Regions from separate parts of the Homo sapiens genome. Here all the other regions are linked to region 2. Evidence: promoter capture Hi-C in human tissues and cell types (Jung and others, 2019). All regions are on one chromosome and are shown on one strand. Each heading gives the region's core, a stretch centred on a gene start or on the middle of the fragment in contact. The rest is flanking DNA. Distances are from core to core; before and after follow the strand shown.

Region 1 (4,381 bases), core at 323-2,822, 650 kb after region 2:
TATACACACTTTTATATATAATATATAATATACAATATATAATATATAATATACAATATATTATATATAATATACAATATATTATATAATATATAATATACAATATATTATATAATATATAATATACAATATATTATATAATATATATTATATATTATATAATATACAATATATTATATGTAATATACAATATATGTAATATACAATATATTATATGTAATATACAATATATGTAATATACAATATATTATATATAATATACAATATATTATATATAATATACAGTATATTATATATAATATACTGTATATTATATATAATATACAATATATTATATAATATACAATATATTATATATAATATACAATATAATATATATAATATATAATATATATAATATACAATATATTATATATAATATATAATATACAATATAATATTATATATAATATATAATATACATATTATATATATGTATTATATATAATATACGTATTATATATAATATACATAATATACATATTATATATTATATATAAAATAAATATATATTATATATAAAATACATATATAATATATATATATGTATATATACACTTCGAGACAGAGTCTCACTCTGTCGCCCAGGCTGGAGCGCAGTGTCGTGATGTCGGCTCACTGCAACCTCTGCCTCCCGGGCTCAAGCGATTCTCCTGCCTCAGCCTCCCAAGCAGCGGGGACTACAGGCGCCCGCCACCACGCCAGGCCAAATTTTGTATTTTTAGTAGAGGCAGGGTTTCACCATGTTGGCCAGGCTGGTCTCGAACTCCTGATCTCAAATGATCCACCTACCTCGGCCTCCCAAAGTGCTGGGACAACAGGTGTGAGCCACCGCGCCAGGCCAATTTATTGTATTTTTAGTGGAGACGGGGTTTCACCATGTTGGCCAGGCTGGTCTCGAACTCCTGGCCTCAAGTGATTTGCCCGCCTCGGCCTCCCAATGTGCTGGGATTGCAGGCGTGAGCCACCGCGCCCGGCCTCAGCCACCTCATTTTACATATGAGGAGACCAAAGGAAGAGATTAAGCCGTAGTTCCTGGCCAAAGGAAAAAAGTACAAGCCAGATCTCCAGATCTTGTGCCCCTTCACTAAATAAATCACGTCCCGTGCGGACCTAGGCTGGAAACAAACCACTCAGCGTACGCCCATTTAATTAACTTCCACTTACACCTGGGCGCAGGGCGAGCCCTAGCCCCACAGGAAACCCACGATTAAACGAGGGGGGGACTGCCGTGCGGCCCCGCCAGGAAGGGCCCGGAGAGAGTGGGGGACACCGCCCTGTGCCCCCAGCACCCGGTGGACAGGCTTCTGGGGCTTTTCTCTTCCTCTCCCCTTTCTTTGGGACCCCTCAGTGTTCCCACACCCCACTTTCCCCAGCCGCTCGGACGCTCGCCACACACCTCGGCCCACAGATGCAGAAGCGCCTCGGCGTTGCCGGCAGAGTGCGCCTGCGCCGATACGCCATCGCGCTAGGGACGCTATTGTGGGTGGAGCCAGCCGGCGGGAGGCGGGCCCAGAGCGGGCCGAGGGGGCGGGGTCACGAGCCGCCAGCCGCCGGGTGGAGGGTCCCGGCCGGGAGCCGCGGAAAGAGTAGGGCTCCCCAGACAACGGGGTCCGACGAGCAGTTGGGCACGGGCTGAGTCCGCCTGCCGGCAGGTAGGACGTGAAGGCAGGGGTGGTGTGGGGGCGGACGGGGGCGTCGGCGCAGCTGGGCGCGGTGGGGAGCGGAGAATGGGGAGGGCAGGGACCGGGCACGGCCGAGCACCGCCGTCTGGCGCGCGGACCGGACCGACCAGCTGACGCTCGGCTGGGCGTGAGGGCCTCTCTCTCTGGTGGTCGCGAGCCTGACTCGTCTTTCCCTGTCGCTGCCTTTCTCTGGCTGCTGTCGAGGCCTTGGGGAGTGCACCTGCCGGTCCGTCTTCCCGGGCTCGGTAGTCACGGAGAGATGAGGAGGAGGAGGAAAGGGCCTCACCAGTCACTTCTGAGCCTTGCAGACCACCGCTTCCTGCTCCCTCTCTAACCCCAGAGATGGAATAGATTGAATGCTGAGAGAGCTCTAAACTCGGCAACGGTCATTTTAAAGTGAAAGACCCCAGAAGGTTCTAAAGTTACTCCCTTTCCCCAAGTCTGTTCTGTAAGTCTAAAGGAACACTGTCATTATTTTTACTAGTTGAGATATGAGATTCTTGTTTTCTGTTCCTTAGGTTAAATTGTACTTCCCGCATTAAGCTCATGCTGCCTTTTTTTTTTTTTTTTTTGAGATGGAGTCTCGGTCTGTCTGCCAGGCTGGAGTGCAGTGGCGCGATCTGGGCTCACTGCAACCTCCGTCTCCTGGGTTCAAGCAATTATCCTGCCTCATTCTCCCTAGTAACTGGGATTACAGGCGTGCGCTACCACGCCCGGCTGATTTTCGTATTTTTAGTAGACACGGGGTTTGTCCATGTTGGCCAGGCTGGTCTGGAATTCCTGACATCAGGTGATCCCCCGCCTCGGCCTCCCAGAGTGCTGCGATTACAGGTGTGAGCCACCGCGCCCGACCTCATGCTGCCTTTTTTTTTTTTTTTTTTTTTTTAACATCGTGTGTGTTCATGTGATCGCTAAGGAACCCAGCTCTTCCATTTAGTTCCCTCTTTCTATCCCTCAAATCTTTTCCAACTGGTGATTTCCATATTGTTGCACTCTCTTTAAAATAAAAAAATTGCCTCCAAGTCTTCTTCTTCCCAAGTATCTTTTATTTGCTTTTTTTCATCTTGCATACATTCTCTTCCTTGATCTCATCAGTTCCATTTTTGTGCACTTGATGTGTGTCAGCTATTATTCTAGACGCTTGGGATACAATGGTGAACAGGTAACTAATTTTGGTGGGGGCAGAGAGACTCTGAAATCAGTTAAGGAATAAGTACCATTTGGTGATGTGATAAAGAGTGACTAGAGGGGTTATTTTGGCCAGGGGGATGTCAGAAATGGCCTTAATTTCTGCATTTAAAAACTTCTGTATACCAGTAACAATTAACTAGGAGTTTTAATAATAAAAAGACACTATTCATAATGGCATTCAAAACTAAAGGTACCTAGAAATAGATGAACCTAAAGCTGTGTAGTCCTTTAGACAGAAAATTGTAAGGCTCTGTTGGAACACAAAAGATGACCCAAGTAAATGGTGAGATATACCGTATTAATAGATGGAAAGACTCAACAAAAAGATGTCAGTTTTCCTCAGTTCTACGAATTCAGTGTAATGCCAATTAAAATCACCATATTGTTTTATGGAATTTGCCATGCTGAACTTAAAATTTATATGGAAAGGCAAGGGACCAAGAATAGTGAAGTCAATTTTGAAGAAGAAGAAAAATAAGGTCTCTCCCTATCAGATACCAAAGCTTAATATAAAGTTGTAATTATTAAGATGGTATGATATTGATTCAGGGATAGAGAATTAGATTCATGGAACAGAATAGAGACACTAGAAACATACCTATTTACATACGGGAGTTTAGTATACCACTAAGTGGTATTGCAAAGCAGGGGGAAAGCATAGACTATTCAATAAAGGATGATGAAATATATGGTTGCTGAGATATCTGGCATTGTTATGGTATACAGACAGGATTAGATTCTTACTTTCAAACTATTGACAACAGTTTCCAGATAAAGACCTAAATGTGAATGGCACAGCTGCAAGGTATTTGGAAAGGAATATAAGAGACCATTGTCTCTAGGAAAGATTTCTTTTTTGTTTGCTTTGTTAAATCTTGTTACACATAAGATTTATCATGTTAACCATGTTGAGTTGTTGAGTTCAGTGACATTCACATTGTGCAACCAGCACTACTATCTATCTCCAGAACTTTTTTTTTAAATGTCTCTGAGAAGGATTTCTTAAGTTACAAAAAGCACCTTTGAGGTGTCATTTTATTACTCCAAATGAGAGATGATGTTGGCTTGAACTAGACAAGAGTGTAGCAGTGAATACAGAGAAAAATGGATGGATTTGGGGGTATGTTTTGATGGTAGAGAAGAGCAACTCTGCGTGGTTTAGATGTAGAGTAAGGGGAAAACAAGGAATCAAGGGCAACATCTGTTTTTTTGCTTCAGTTAAGAGGTAGATCATTTACCATTTACAATCAAAAAGCATTGACCATTTGATGGATAGTGATGGAGAAGATTTGTGGAGGAAGAGTTTGGGGAGAAAAAGTAAAGAATTCTCTTTTGGACAGTTGAGTATGAAAGGCCTGTTGGACATCCAAGTGGAAATGTTCCAATAGCTGTTGGATAGATAGGTCAGGAAAGATCGTAGCTAGAGGTACTCTGAGATCACTGGCATATAGATATTAAGAACTGGG
Region 2 (4,818 bases), core at 1,801-4,300:
GTATCCACAGGGGATTGGTTCCAAGACCTCTGAGGATACCAAAATTCTCCAATGATCAAGTTCCTGACATAAAAGGGTACAGTATTTGCATATAATGTACAAAATCCTCCTGTATATCTTAAATCATCTCCAGATTACTTATAATATGTAATATAATGTAAATACTTGTTATACTATATTCTGTATTGGATTTTTATTGGTATTTTAATTGTAGTATTATTTTTATTATTTTCCAAATCTTTTCCATCCAAGGTTGGCTGATTCCATGAATGTAGAACCTACAAATACAGAGGGCTAATTGTACATAAAAGTTGAGTGAGTCAAATGCTCATATGATATGATTCAGTGACACAAGAATACCATGAAATACATATTATCCTTTCCATTTTACAGATGAAGAGATGGATGCTCAGTCAGGTTGACAGACTTGCCCGAACGGACCAGGTTGGTCAGTTTGCAGGAAGCAGAATTCAGACTTAGCTCTGTTTGCCTCAAAAACCTGCCATCGTTTCATTTTTATTTTATTTTATTTATTTTTTGAGACAGAGTTTCGCTGTTGTTGCCCAGGCTAGAATGCAATGGTGCGATCTCAGCTCACTGCAACCTCTGCCTCACGGTTGGTTTCAAGTGATTCTCCTGCTTCAGGCTCCCGAGTAGCTGGGGTTACAGGCGTGCACCACCATGCCCATCTAATTTTTTGTATTTTTAGTAGAGATGGGGTTTCCCCACGTTGGCCAGGCTGGTCTCGAACTCCTGACCTCAGGTGATCTGCTCGCCTCAGCCTCCCAAAGTGCTGGGATTACAGGCTTGAATCATCGCACCTGGCCGTTTCATTTTTACCACACTGCCACAGGCCACTTCATTTTTTGGCATTCCCCTAAAGGGTAAAGTTCAGAAATGCTCTTCAAGGTCTTGGGGCACCGCTATTTCAAACATTCAATTTAGAAGACAGTATACTTCAAATGGAGCGAGATAAAAATTAGATTAGAGGCATATCCTATTATGAGAGTTGGGAACCCAAACTGGCTAACCAGGCTCCAGGCAGTGATAAGGCAGTGGAGGTATTGATGTCCAGTTGGAAACATTATCAGTGCAGGTAATTTAAATATCTTTCATAGTTTTCTTTCTACTGCAGTTACCATTATATCTTCATTTTATTTATTTATTTATTTATTTTTGAGACGGAGTTTCACTCTTGTTGCCCAGGCTGGAGTGCAATGGTGCGATCTTAGCTCACTGCAAGCTCTGCCTCCCGGGTTCACACCATTCTCCTGCCTCAGCTTCCCGAGTAGCTGGGACTACAGGCGTGCGCCACCACACCCAGCTAATTCTGTATTTTTAGTAGAGACGGGGTTTCTCCATGTTGGTCAGGCTGGTCTTGAACTCCTGACCTCAGGTGTTCCACCTGCCTCGGCCTCCCAAAGTGCTGGGATTACAGGCATGAGCCACAGCGCCCGGCCTATAACTTCATTTTAATAAAAAAGAAATTCAGGCCAGGAGTGATGGCTCACGCCTGTAATCCTAGCACTTTGGGAGGCCGAGGTGAGCAGATCACCTGAGGTCAGGAGTTCAAAACCAGCCTGGCCAACATGGTGAAACCCCGTCTCTACTAAAAATACAAAAATTTAGCTGGGCTTGGTGGCGGGTGTCTGTAATCCCAGCTACTCAAGAGGCTGAGGCAGGAGAATTGCTTGAACCTGGGAGATGGAGGTTGCAATGAGCTGAGATTGCGCCAATGCACTCCAGCCTGGGCAAGAAGAGCAAAACTCCGTCTAAAAAAAAAAGGGAAAGAAAAGTTCAGTCTTTCAGAGGGAATACACTTACCTGAATAGAGGTCAAAATCTCAGAAGAGGCCTCCCTCCTCTCTCTGACCTCTGAAATGCCCTGGATCTGCAAGTGGGAGATAACAGGCCCTGACAAAGGGTTGCCCAAACAGCAGTGTGTCCCTAGGAAGACAGGTTAAGCATCAATTACTATGAGGCTAGCACGAGTTAAGCATTCCACATGCACGATCTCATTTAATCCTTACAAGTCTATGTAGGTGGGGCTACTAGTATGTTCACTCAACAAATTGGGAAACAGAGTTTGGAACTTCGCCCAAAGTCATTGGTTTCTCTTTCTACCAGGATAGATTTAAGTGCTTACTAAGTGTCAGGTACTGTTCCAGGCATCGTACATGTACTAACTCATTATCCTCATTAGAACCCTCTGATACAGGTGCCATAATTATGCCGCTTTACAAACAAGAAAACTAAAAGCAGAAAGGGAGGAGTAAACCCAGGAGAGGAATTCAGGAGAAGCTCTGGTCTCAACCTTTAGCCAACATCACAATCACCCGAAGGGCTTGTAACACACTGATTGCTGGGCTCAGCCCTAGAGTTTCTGAATCCTAAGGCTGAGCAACACCTAATTTCCACTTATGCAAGTTCCCAGTGAATGCTGTTGCTGCTCGTCTGGAAGCCAGACGTTGAGAACCCCTTCTAGAGTGAGCTCTCCCGCAGCAAATTCTACTGGCCCCCAAAGTATGTGTTTTGTGTGTCTTAAAAATTTGTTGAGAACCATTAGCAAAAAAACAAACAAAAAAACTTAATTCCTAGAATTTCAGAGAAATCCCATGGAGCTTTTTGCCAGTCACGTCAAAAGAGGCCACAAACGTGCCACTTAACCAGAGCTTCGGAAAGGCGGCGGCTGGGCCGGCCACGTGCACCGAGACTCGGGGCCAGGTGCAGCCGCCCCAGGGCCGAGGCCTCGGAACTGGCCCCCGGTCCCGGCCCCAAGCGGTCCAGCGATTCCCCCAAGCCGTCCGCCCCTCCAGATTTATTTACGTTTTCCTGACTTCCCCCTGCCCGCTGTGGGACAAACAGCCTCCCCACTTGCATCTGCGAGGGGAGTAGCGCGCACTTCCGCCAAGTTCCGCCCCCACCCAGCCCGAGGCCCGGCTGCCGCCATCTTGCGGGGGGCGCACCTCACAGGTCGGGAGCTGGGCGGGAAGGGGCGTGGTCCCGGGACCCGCCCCGCCGGGGCTTTTGGGAGCGCGGGCAGCGAGCGCACTCGGCGGACGCAAGGGCGGCGGGGAGCACACGGAGCACTGCAGGCGCCGGGTGAGGCGTGCGGCGGCCGGGGTCGGGACGGGGGTTCTGGGCGGGGGGTTCCTGGTGGAGGGCCCGGGCGGGCGGCGGGGTTCGGCGGCAGGTGCGGCGGGCAGCCTAGGGGGCGCGGCGCGGGGTTCTCGCCCGGCACCCCCGGGGCAGGTGGAGCTGAGCCGGCCCGCGGCCCCGCGACCTTCCCCTCGGCGCCGGGTCCCCTCAGGTCTCTCCCGAAGGAAACGCGGAGCCTGGGTGCCTGGGCGCCGTCCCTCGGCGGCTCCCGAGCGGTTGCAGTTTTTGAAAGAGTTTCTCAAAGGCTTGACGGTTGTGACTGCAGCCGCGGGGCAACGGTTGCTACACAAAGTGAAACTTGCCGAGTGCTCGGCTTCTCACGGGCTTCCTGGCAGCCCCGGGAAGTTCCTCGGCGGACCCCGAGCCCGCGCCCCCTCTCCACGGATCCCTCCCCAGCGAGTGCCCCCCCGCCCGCCCTGTGCCCCCTCTCCCCTGACCCCTCCCTGTCGGGTGCCCCGCGGGCTCGCGCTGGCTGTCCCGGGACTCCTTCCTCCTAGGTGTTCCTCCTGCCCCTCGCCCTCTCTCTCCCAGGCGCGCGCTCCCTCTCCCCGGGCCTTTCCCCGCCGGGTATCCCTGGGCCCGCGCCCCCTCTTCTCCGCCTCTCTCCGCTGGGTGCACCTCGAGTGTCCCCCAGACCCCTCCCCGCCCGGCCGGCGCTCTCTCCCCTGACCCTCCTGGCCGAGTGTTCCCCGGGGCCCGCGCCCCCTCCCCCCGATCCTCCCCACTGAGTGTTCCCCCTGCCCTCTCTCTCCCGGGCCTGCGCCCCCCACCAGCCCCTTCATGCTGGGGGTCCCCTGGGTGCGCACCCCCTCTCCTCGGACCCACCCCCAACTGGGGGGCACCTCCAGTGCCCGCCGGCTGCCCCTTGGGCGCGCGCCCCCGCTCTCGGGCGCCTCCTCGCCGGGGGCCCGGCCCGGCCCCGCCCCGCCCGTGCCCCCTCCCCATGCCCGCAGTGCTGGGCGGGGCGCTGACTCACCCGGGCCCGGGCTGGCCGGTTCTTAAGCGGCAGCGCGCTGCGGGCGCCGAGTGTCGGGCGCGGCAGGAGGACGAGGCAGGGCGGGCGGGCGCTCTAAGGGTTCTGCTCTGACTCCAGGTTGGGACAGCGTCTTCGCTGCTGCTGGATAGTCGTGTTTTCGGGGATCGAGGATACTCACCAGAAACCGAAAATGCCGAAACCAGTAAGTTGCCCAGTTTCTGGGCCGGGCGGACGGGAGAGGCTTCATTGGAGAGGGGAGGCACCTGCTCGAGGTGTTGGGGCAGTTCCTGGGGAACAGGGTTCTTCTCACACGCAGAAGACGATAGGAATAGGAGGAGGTTTTCGCCGCTCTTTGTTACTTGTTGACCCTTTTGTGGAGCGTTAGGAAAACACCATTTTGATGCTTTTCTCTGCAGTCTTTTTCTTTGTGAGCCCCCTCCCCAGTAGTTACGGTCTTTTCTAAAAACTAGAGGCCTTTTTACACTGCTTCCGTCTGTTTTTAAAGGGTATAGTAATACAACTTAGAAGTTTCTTAAAAAGTCCAAATCACAGGGAGACTCAGATGGCTTCCGACCACACACACCAGTTCTCAGAGCTCCTAAGGGTCCGAAACCACAGGCGCCCCAGATCCAACTGGGGAGATATTAAAGGGCGTTTGGGAGAGGAGACTGGCTTTCGGAAGTT
Region 3 (4,389 bases), core at 303-2,802, 620 kb after region 2:
TCTCGAAACACTCTCATAATAAGCAGATGATATCTTTATTTGGCCCTCCAAAAAGTCAACAAGCAAAATGACTTGAGGATCCAAAAAACTGTTACCATGACCTTTGCTCTTGATCAATCTGCTCTTGCTGTGACTGGGCCACTTCCACCTCTTGGTAGCCATTGTTTTGTATTTTGTCTTGAGGGTCATACTGGTAAAGCCATGTTTCTGTTACAATTCTTTTTTTTTTCTTTTATGTTTGCAAAATAATTATTTTACAGCTCAGCAAAAGAAATATTATTGGATATTTTGAGCATAACGACTCAGACAACTATAGAGTTTTTGAATGAGTAGTGACTATTTTGCATGACGACTGTGCTTTTCTTTCTGCATTTGGGTATCTTATTTAAATGTGTGTTAGTGGGTTGGTTTGGCTGCCATGTTAAATTCTTGTTGTATCTGGTCATTTTCTGAAGATGATCTCTCCCAAAATGATCTCAGTCCTTTCAAAATCACCAAGCAGTCTTTATACCTGTCTCTGAATTCAAGGTTTTAAAAGTCTGTTTTTGCTACAATTCTTTGAAGAAATGCTTCAGGATCTTGATCTCACTTGTTTGACATTTCCATCGAAAGCTCTGCTTTTGTCTGCAGCTGACCTGGGCTGGATGGTTTTGGTATCCATTGAGTGGAAAGTGTGCTCAACTTTAATTTTTCAGTCAGATTTATAAAAGCTGAACCAACTGAGGAGCATATTGTGTTGGCTATCGTTTCTGCTGTTAATCATTGGTCCTCTTCAAGTAGGGCATGAATGAGATAATTTTTTCCTCACGAAGTGGCATGGTCTGCTGCTGTAGGTTTCATCTTCAACATTGTCTTGTCCTTTCTTAAAATGAATTATCCATTTGTAAACTGATTTCCTTGGGGCGTTGTTCCCATAAACTTTTTGCAAAGCATCAATGATTGCACCATTCTTCCACCTAAGCTTTGCCATAAATTTGATGTTTGTTCTTGCTTCAGTTTTAGCAGAATTCATATTGTTCTGACAGGGGCTCTATTTAAACTGATATCCTTCTTAGTGCCTCAAACTAGATCCTGTTCAGACATGTTATAATGATGAGTTTATTTTGCTGCAAAGATTTTTGAAATCTATGCATAATTTTTTTCATAATATGCATTTTCCATCAACTTTTTGAAGACCTCTTGTGTGTTAACTCACATTCATTTTAATAGTCTTTAAAGACGGGCATTCCTGTTTACACAAATGAGCACAAAGAAATCCAATCAACGAAACATCTGAGATCCCAGAGCTAGTAAGCAGAGATCTGACACTTGGACTCAAGGAATCTAGATTCAATCAGTGCTTTTCATTTTTATTTTTTTTGAGATGGGTGGGAGTCTCGCTCTGTCACCCCGGCTGGAGTGCAGTGGCACGATCTCGGCTCACTGCAACCTCCACCTCCCGGGATTACACCATTCTCCTGCCTCAGCCTCCCGAGTAGCTGGGACTACAGGCGTCCACCACCATGCCCAGCTAATTTTTTTGTATTTTTAGTAGAGACGGGGTTTCACCTTGTTAGCCAGGATTGTTTTGATCTCCTGACCTTGTGATTTGCCCGCCTCGGCCTCCCAAAGTGCTAGGATTATAGACGTGAGCCACCGCGCCCGGCCCAGTCAGTGCTCTTAATCACTTGCCTATCTTGAGAACAGTGTTTTTAAAAAAGTTTATCCAATAATCTCATCCATAGACATTTCAGTGTTATCTTTGCTGCAAATGAAATTGAGCTACGTACACTTGAGAATATTTATTGACTATATTTGCAAACTGCATCATTTCTCCATCTTTAAAATATACCCCTTCCCCATCTGTTAAGTTTGTTAAGATAGAATGATCTCAGTATTTTAGTTACAGCAGAGGCTTTTTGTCAGAGCTTTTACTCCTAGTTGTCAGCTAAGTAAGATTTATTGTATAACTGCAAAATAGAGTAGTAAGTACACTACCAACTTCTCAGAAAAAAGTACAATTATGTCAAATCACCTGTTCTAGAAAATGTAAAGAGCAATAAAATCATTAATCATTTGGATTACCACCTATAATGCCTATCAGAAATAAAATGCAGTAGTGTTTGTTGCCTATTATCAGTAATGCTGTTACTGTTCACCAAAACTGATTTCTCAAAATACATTGTTATATCCATCAACTGTGATGTTAGATAGGATCCCTGGAATTTTAAATTAATCACATGAAATTTCACAAGGAAATTGGAATTCAAGGAATTAAGACCTTGAATTTGACCTAATACAGTATTAAAAGAAAAAACCTTTATTGAGAAATATAACACTCAATATCACAACTTCAGTCCATAGTTCTATTAAGAGACAAAGTTTCACTCTGTCATCCAGGCTGCAGTGCAGTGGCACCTTCTTAGCTTACTGCAGCTTCAAACTCCTGGGCTTCAGTGATCCTCCTGCCTCCAGTTAAGTCATTTTAATGCTACCTTTAGGACTTTATTTAAAAAAAAAAAAAAAGTCATAAATTTCTTGGTGCCAAGCACCAACAGCCTTGTTCTGGACATGTAAAGTATGCCAAATCAAATAATGCTAGTCAGATTCCAATAAACAGCCTAGGTGAATGTCGCTTATTTCCTGTTCACCCATAGTTGGACATGTCAGCTAAGTGGTTACAGGTGGGCTTCCTATCATTCACATCACTCTATCTTTCTTAATAATGTCCAGAGAAAGAAAGATATTTAACATTTGCCCCAACACAACTTTTTAAAAATAAGAGCTCATATTTTCCTTCACTTATTTCACTTAATACTCTTTGCAGTTCTAATACCTAACCTTGTTTTTACTAACCTTGTTTTCAGACTGTCCCTTTCTCCCTTAATCACCTAGCCTTGTTTCCATGTGAATAAGCTCTCCCTTAGCTGAGAAAGCCGGAGGAACTCCATTTGGTTCCTTCATTTACAGGACATCAAGGACTCCTTACCCACCCCCTTTCCTCAAGGAGTTAACTTGTGTAAGCTGACTCTCAACATATCAAAGAGTCCAATTAACTCATAAGGTACTGAAGCAAGCAATGTACGAAGTTCCCAGGATTTCGCTCAAGAGATACACCATAAAGCCTTGAGTTTGTGTCTGGCAGAGCCCCCACACCTGACATCTTATGATAGATTTAGAGCCCCTGCACCTGGAACTGTTTGTTTCTCTGTAACCATTTGTCTTTTTAATTTTTTGCATGTTTTTACTTCTGTAGAATTGTTGCAACTGAGCTCCCGTCCCCTTCCTAAACCAAAGTATAAAGGAAAATCAAGCCCCTTCCTCGGAGCTGAGAGAATTCCAAGTGTGAGCCACCTCTTGGCTGCCAGCTAAATAAAGGACTTTTAAATTCGTCTCAAAGTGTGGCGTTCCTCTAACTTGCTCGGGTACAACACAGTCACTGTTCAATAGTTTTCTCATAAATATCTTTTTTTCTCTTTTTTACTTCAGTGGCAAAAATCCTAATACCTTTTGAACTCTGGGATTCTATCAAAAATTTTCTAAGTTTCATGTTAATATAAAAGGTTGGTGACAAATGCCTGAGGCATACTAAAAGTTGATTTAGACATGCCTGAAATATAAGATACATTAGTAACATTTTGGTATAGCTGGAAATTCATTTTTTTTTTTTTTTTTTTTTGAGATGGAGTCTCCCTCTGTCGCCCAGGCTGGAGTGCAGTGGCACAATCTCAGCTTACTGCAAGCTCCGCCTCCCGGGTTCACGCCATTCTCCTGCCTCAGCCTCCTGAGTAGATGGGACTACAGGCACCCGCCACCAGGCCCGGCTAATTTTTTGTATTTTTAATAGAGATGGGGTTTCACCGAGCAGGATGGTCTCGATCTCCTGACCTCGTGAGCTGCCTGCCTCAGCCTCCCAAAGTGCTGGGATTACAGGCGTGAGCCACCGTGCCCAGCCTGGAAATTCTTAAGAATCATCTTTTACTTAACTAGTTTTAGTAGTAGTAACTCATCAAAATTTTTTGCATTGCTATGAGGGAATGAAAACTGTGAACTGTATGGACTGAGTTATATGGGTGGGAATTATGTAAAATATACCTAACTGAAAATTTCCAGATTCAGTAATGCTGTGTAAGTGAATAAATATGGTACACAGGTGCTTTGAATAAACATACCATAAGGAAGCAGGTAAAATGGATTTGTAAGAGTCTACAGGTCATGAAAATTCTCTTTTCTCTTGGAAAATTCCCTTTACAGGAACCCACCCCAATGACATGATCTTCAGGAAGGGAAGCAAAGCCCCTCTCAGTGTTACTGTTTTTGCCTTCAATTGATCACAGAACTCTCTCTTGCTATATATACACACATACATATACACTTTTTTTTTTGGAGACAGGGTCTCACTCTGTCACC

Evidence for each region. Contacts are between HindIII fragments. The study calls those that stand out against the background at their distance.
Region 1: the fragment with the promoter of SERAC1 here is called in contact with the fragment with the promoter of EZR in region 2 in 2 of the 25 tissues and cell types used here (H1 embryonic stem cells and IMR-90 fibroblasts).
Region 3: a contact is called between a fragment that was not itself captured here and the fragment with the promoter of EZR in region 2, in 1 of the 25 tissues and cell types used here (lymphoblastoid cells).

What each region holds. Positions count from the first base shown.
Region 1 is chr6:158,165,453-158,169,833 of GRCh38, reverse strand. It overlaps SERAC1 (serine active site containing 1), which reads left to right and starts at 1,572. Exons shown (of 17, transcript NM_032861.4): 1 at 1,572-1,694. It overlaps GTF2H5 (general transcription factor IIH subunit 5), which reads right to left and starts at 1,484. Exons shown (of 3, transcript NM_207118.3): 1 at 1,439-1,484. RefSeq lists silencers at 1,485-1,664, 1,705-1,774. The HindIII fragment of the contact is 17,979 bases long and covers 1-4,381 here.
Region 2 is chr6:158,817,600-158,822,417 of GRCh38, reverse strand. It overlaps EZR (ezrin), which reads left to right and starts at 3,050. Exons shown (of 14, transcript NM_001111077.2): 1 at 3,050-3,101; 2 at 4,252-4,336. The coding sequence starts at 4,325. It overlaps EZR-AS1 (EZR antisense RNA 1), which reads right to left and starts at 4,439. Exons shown (of 3, transcript NR_102425.1): 1 at 4,313-4,439; 2 at 1,825-1,946; 3 at 179-278. RefSeq lists enhancers at 796-895, 4,417-4,466 and silencers at 2,767-2,816, 2,877-3,866, 4,007-4,206. The HindIII fragment of the contact is 16,325 bases long and covers 1-4,818 here.
Region 3 is chr6:158,193,258-158,197,646 of GRCh38, reverse strand. It overlaps GTF2H5 (general transcription factor IIH subunit 5), which reads right to left. Exons shown (of 3, transcript NM_207118.3): 3 at 1-4,389. Among named protein-coding and RNA genes, the nearest start is that of GTF2H5, 27 kb to the right of the region's middle. RefSeq lists an enhancer at 2,676-3,276. The HindIII fragment of the contact is 3,149 bases long and covers 1-3,126 here.